Regions from separate parts of the Homo sapiens genome. Here region 1 is linked to region 2. The links are contacts of gene promoters, found by promoter capture Hi-C in human tissues and cell types (Jung and others, 2019). All regions are on one chromosome and are shown on one strand. The core of a region is centred on a gene start or on the middle of the fragment in contact, and the rest is flanking DNA. Distances in the headings are between cores, read along the strand shown. Region 1 overlaps ATP2C2 (ATPase secretory pathway Ca2+ transporting 2). Region 2 holds the start of TAF1C (TATA-box binding protein associated factor, RNA polymerase I subunit C).

Region 1 (2,825 bases), core at 9-2,508, 220 kb before region 2:
TGGGAGGCAGAAATGGGAGGACTGCTTGAGCCCAGGAGTTTCAGTCCAGCCTGGGAAACACAGCAAAATCCCATCTTTACAAAAAAATGAAAAAATGAGCTGGGCATGGTGAGGTGCACCTGTGGTCCCAACTACTCAGAAGGCTAAGGCAGGAGGATCACTGGGGCCTGGGAAGTTGAGGCTGCAGTCAGCCGTGTTTATGCCGCTGCACTCCTGCTTGGACACCAGAGAAACCCTATCCCAGAATATAACAATAATAATAATGCACCTGGTCTGGGCACCTTGATTCCCAGGCTGCCAGGCTCCTGTCCCCTCAGGGACTCTGCACCCTGCCCTCCAGCGACGCCCTCCATCCACATCCTCACATGGCTTTCCGTCTCATTTCACTCAGATCTCTGCCCAGATGCCACCTCCTCAGAGCACCAGCCTAGTGCCTCCCTGCCATCCCGTCCAGAGCCTTACGCCGTGCTAAGGTAGAATTCCTAATGGTGAGACTCCTGAGACAGAGGAACAGGGCTGCCTTGTGAGGTGATGAGTTCCCTGTCACTGGGGGAAAGATAGGAGAATCACAACACTTGGCATGCAGGAGGAACTCAACACATGTAAGGAATTAATAAGGGAGAGCAGACAGAACCCGTATACGCAAGGGCAGGAAAACCCAGCCGTCAGGAGCTCCCGTCCAGTCCTACAAGGATTCCCACAGATGCATTGCTGAACCGACAAGCTATAAGATGAATGAGCAGGTCCTCTGCTCTCAAGAAATTTAAGAGATTTCATTTTGGGGAACACCCTGGCTGGAGGCTGGAGGAGGATCCTTGGTGAGAAGGAAGATGTTCACGGTGGGTTTCGACAGAGCAGAGGGGAACGAGGAAGGAGGATAACCAGGGGAAGTGGGGGAGCGGGTCCTAGTGGAAGGGGTGCCAGGGCAGAGCAAAGAGATCTCCAGCCGCAGAGGGGAGCTCCTCCCTCACAGCCCATGTCTCGGCCTCCTTCCCTGAACCCCAACTTCCGGGAGCCTCCACTGCCTCTTCTCAGCCCTGCAGTTTTAGGAAGCTTCTGGGCTAGCCAGAACCACCTACATACCCAGAAGCCTATTTTGCTGCCAAAACGCATCGATGAATAACATTCCCAGAACACTGAGAACTGAGCCTTGATCAGGGAGGGGACCTCAAGGAGAGTGGAGACAGAGGATGCTGCCCAGGGGACTGTGATTGGTTCCGGAATCGACCAATGGAGGAAGCTGTAAACACAGAGCCAATAGGAAGGCGGTTGAAGCCTGGGGCAGCCCAGGGGCCAGAGAATGAAGAAGGGGATGTCAGGGATGGGGCCAAGAGCATGCAAAAGGCTGGAAAAGGGGATCTAAGGCCATCTAAATGCCCTCAGGCACCTGGAAAATTCTGCCTGTTCACTGAGCCTTTCTGAACTGGTCCTGCAAAGGTGGCAGGGACTGCCGACTTCTAGAATGGAACTTGGAGCCATGTCAATTGCAGTTTTTTCTTTCCCCTTCTTAGTGGCTTCCAGGCATTTGATTGTGTGCCATTCATTCAGCACCGCGCCAGCACCGATGGCAGCAGCTAGCAAGGGAAGGGGCTCTGGGTGCAGCTCCCTGGCTGCACTGCTCTGCACTGCTCCTCACAGCTATGTGACTTTGGGCTCAGGTTACAGTAGGACACCCAGTAAAATCTAAATTTCAGAAAAACAAGGAACTTTTTGTTTTTAGTATAAGCACGTCCACTGTATTGGGACACACTTATACTAGAAATTGCTTCTTGTTTATCTATCTGAAATTCACTTTGGTTTTGTTGTTGTTGTGGAGACAAGGTCTCACTCTGTTGTCCAGGCTGGAGCACAGTGGCACAATCTCAGTTCACTGCAGCCTCCACCTCCTGGGTTCCAACAATCCTCCCACCTCAGCCTCCTCAGTAGCTGGGATTACAGGCATCCACTACCACATCCGGCTAATTTTTATATTTTTAGAAGAGACGGGGTTTCGCCATGTTGGCCGGGCTGGTCTTGAACTCCTGGGCTCAAGTGATCCACCCGCTTCAGCCGCCCAAAGTGCTTGGATTACAGGCACGAGCCACCACGCCCAGCCTGAAATTGAAATTTAACAGGGCATCCTATATTGTTATTTGCTAAACCTGGCAACTCTGGGGAAATCTTTCAACCTCTGCACTTCTCCTTCCTCATGTGCAAAGGCGGGATTAGGAGGAGGATTAGTAAGCGCATGCTTACTTATTCACTTACTCATATAGCGTGGGGCCCGGGGCCTGCTCAACTGTCTACGAAAGTGATCACTGTTTTTCCTGATCGCGGTTGCCTGGGAGTTGGTGATTTGCTCATGACTGATGCTCAGGCTGGCTGGGGCAGCGTGAAAGGGGCGGGAGCTGTCCAAGGATGCCTTCCATCAACATTGAAAGATGGAATGGCTGCCCCACCCTCGCTGGCTTATGCATGTTAATGCAAAGAATGACACCTCTGGTCCTACCTGATCCAGGTATTTCTTCCACACAGGTTCGCTGTTGTCAGCAACAAACTCATTCCAGCCATGGGCCAGCCGGCGCTGCGTCACCGAGAACTCCGACAGCCCAGTGTGTAAGTCCACCTGGAAGGAGAGGTCAGGCACAAGCTCACTCATGGGCGCAGCAAGGAATGAGGCAACAGGGTACAGACTCCCACTCTGAAAGGCAGCGGCTTCCATGATGGGCCAGGGACACAGGCTTGTCCACCAAGGTGCTGGGACTTGTTCAAAGACCCCGTGCAGATGGGGCAGAGAGAGGAGGAAAAGGCACAAGCCAGTGACCATTATAATTACAGCAGAAAAG
Region 2 (2,700 bases), core at 66-2,565:
GGGAGACAGAAGAGTAAAAACCAGAGAGATGGCCTCATGAGAAGAATCCGACTGGCATTGCTGGCTTTGAAGATGGAAAGGGGTCATGAGCCAAGGAATGCAGGCAGCTTCCAGAAGCCAGAAAAGACAAGATAGTGGACTCTTCCTTAGAGCCTCTCAAAAGGAACACAGCCCTGCTGGCACTTTTAGTCCAGGTAAAAACTTCCAGATAAAAACAATATAGGCCAGGCGTGGTGGCTCATCCTGTAATCCCAGCAATTTGGGAGGCCTAGGCAGGCGGATCACTTGAGGTCAGGAGTTCAAGACTCAGCCTGACCAACATGGTGAAACCCCGTCTCTACTAAAAATACAAAAATTAGCCGGGCATGGTGGCGCAGGCCTGTAATCCCAGCTACTCGGGAGGCTGAGGCAGAAGAATTGCTTGAACCCAAGAGGCGGAGGTTGCAGTGTGCCAAGATCGTGCCACTGCACTCTAGCCTCCATCTCAAAAAAATAAATAAAGACATAGATGACAGCTGAGAATTTGGAAATTGATTCTTTAAAGCAACGGTTCTCAAAGTATGGCCCCTGGACCAGCATCATCTGGGAACTTGCTAGAAATGCAGACTCTTGGGCCACATCCCAGATCTACTGAATCAGCAACTCGGGGGGCAGAGGTAGGGTGGAGCCTAGCAAACTTGTAACAAGCCCCCCAGGTGGTTCTAAGGCTCACTGAAGTTTGAGAAGTACTATGTTAGGATAACGGTAAGGTTCATGACTGGACAGTGGTTCTTAAAGCATGGCCCCCAGATAAGCAGTTTCAGCATCACCTGGGAACTTAGGCAAATCATCAGGTCCCACCCCAGACTCACCGAATTGGAGACTGTGTTTTAACTAGCCCCCCAGGTGCTACTGCTGACGCACGCTAGCTAGAGTTTGAAGACCACTGCCTAAAGCTCTCCCTGCCTGACCACCCCTGGAAAAGCTTCACTCTTAGTAGGTATTTGTACCCTTATTTGTAAAGCCCGCTTCTTGGGATTTAAGGACAATCAGTAGGATACCTACTGACCAATACAGGTCTGGCTTATAGTAGGTGTTCTGTGGGAGTTCGTTAAATGATTAATTTAATACAACTCTGAGGAAATTGGTGAAGTAGATGTGGGATTCGAACCTAAGTCCACCCGGCCTCCACTATTGGGACTCAAGGGAGCTTTATTTCCGCTGCCCACGCGCCGCCTGCACGCCCGTTCCCTCTCCTCCCGGGAGGGGGCGCGCCAGGACCCTAAGAGGCCTGGCTGGGAGGCGGGACTTCCTGCCTCCGCAGGAGGCACTTCCGGTCCAAACCGGAAGACCGTGGGTAGCTGCGGCGGGGCTGACCCGTCCCGAGTGCCAAAGCTGGGGTTCTACTTGAGATTTCCCTCGTGGTGCCAGGGTCCGGCGAGCATCACGCCGAGGCCCATTTTCCAGACGACCACGACGAGGCCGGGGTCACGTAAGTGCACGCATGCGCCCCCTCCGCGCGGACTGCGCGTGTTCGAGGAGCGGACCCGCAGATGTAGGAGGGGAGGGACGCCCCCAATCCCCAGTCCCCGCGGCAGGCTCACGTTTCGCAGTCCCCGGCCTGTCGTTATTGCGGATCCGACTGAGTTCTGTAGCCTTGGAGGTCTAAAGGGTCCTGGAGAGCCCGCAGCGAGGGCGGGAAGCCGGCCGGGGAAGTCGAGGCTGCCTTGTCTGAGGGCTTTTGTGGGGTCGTGCTCTCCACCAGCGCCCTCCGCCTGTCTAGGATCGTTTCAGGCTATGCGGTTCCAAGAGAAAATATTTTTGTTTCTATTTTATTTTTGAGATAGAACCTTGCTCTGTCACCCAGGCTGGAGTGCTGTGGCATGATCTTGGCTCACTGCAACCTCTGCCTCCCAGATTCAAGCGATTTTCGTGCCCAGCCTCCTCGGTAGTTGCGATTACAGGTGTACACCACCACGCCCGGCTAATTTTTGTATTTTTAGTATTGACAGGGTTTCACTGTATTGGCCGGACTGGTCTCAAACTTCTGGCCTCAGGTGATCCGCCCGCCTTGGCCTCCCAAAGTGCTGGGATTGCAGGCGGGAGCCACCGCACCCGGCCAAAGGGAAAAGATTTTTGTATAGCGAGACTCTAATGCTAGCGTTTGCATTTCGGTGCATGCGAGAGCACTGGTTCGGAGCTCTGCCTCTGAATCGGATGGGAATCAAGTCTTGGCTGTGGCAGCTAAGAGCTGTTGGACTAAAGTTCTTGCTGAGCCTTCGTTTCCTGAACTCTGTTAACAGGGACGGCGATAGAAGAGTGCAGCATTTAGCATGTGCCTGGCAGATAGATGCTGGCGCTTGGTCAGCGAGCGCTGCTGTTATTTTTGCCCCTGTTATTTTTGTTAATTAAAAAGGAGGGATGCTATGGCTGCTCATACTTCTAGAGGACTGTATTTACCAAAGCCTTGTGATGTAATTTTTTTTTTTCTTGAGATGGAGTTTCGCTCTTGTTGCCCAGGCTACAGTGCAATGGCGCGATCTCAGCTCACCGCAACCTCCGCCTCCCGGCTTCAAGGAATTCTCCTGCCTCAGCCTCCCGAGTAGCTGGGATTACAGGCATGCGTCACCACGCCCGGCTAATTTTGTATTTTTAGTAGAGACCGGGTTTCTCCACATTGGTCAGGCCAGTCTCGAACTCCCGACCTCAGGTGATCCGCCT

The links. The method cuts DNA at HindIII sites, captures the fragments that hold promoters and counts their contacts. A contact is called where the count stands out against the background at its distance.
Region 1: a contact is called between a fragment that was not itself captured here and the fragment with the promoter of TAF1C in region 2, in 1 of the 25 tissues and cell types used here (dorsolateral prefrontal cortex).

What each region holds. Positions count from the first base shown.
Region 1 is chr16:84,404,908-84,407,732 of GRCh38, reverse strand. It overlaps ATP2C2 (ATPase secretory pathway Ca2+ transporting 2), which reads right to left. Exons shown (of 27, transcript NM_014861.4): 3 at 2,489-2,605. Among named protein-coding and RNA genes, the nearest start is that of ATP2C2, 38 kb to the right of the region's middle. The HindIII fragment of the contact is 6,364 bases long and covers 1-2,825 here.
Region 2 is chr16:84,185,672-84,188,371 of GRCh38, reverse strand. It overlaps TAF1C (TATA-box binding protein associated factor, RNA polymerase I subunit C), which reads left to right and starts at 1,315. Exons shown (of 15, transcript NM_001243156.2): 1 at 1,315-1,471. RefSeq lists a silencer at 1,120-1,329 and an enhancer at 975-1,475. The HindIII fragment of the contact is 11,118 bases long and covers 1-2,700 here.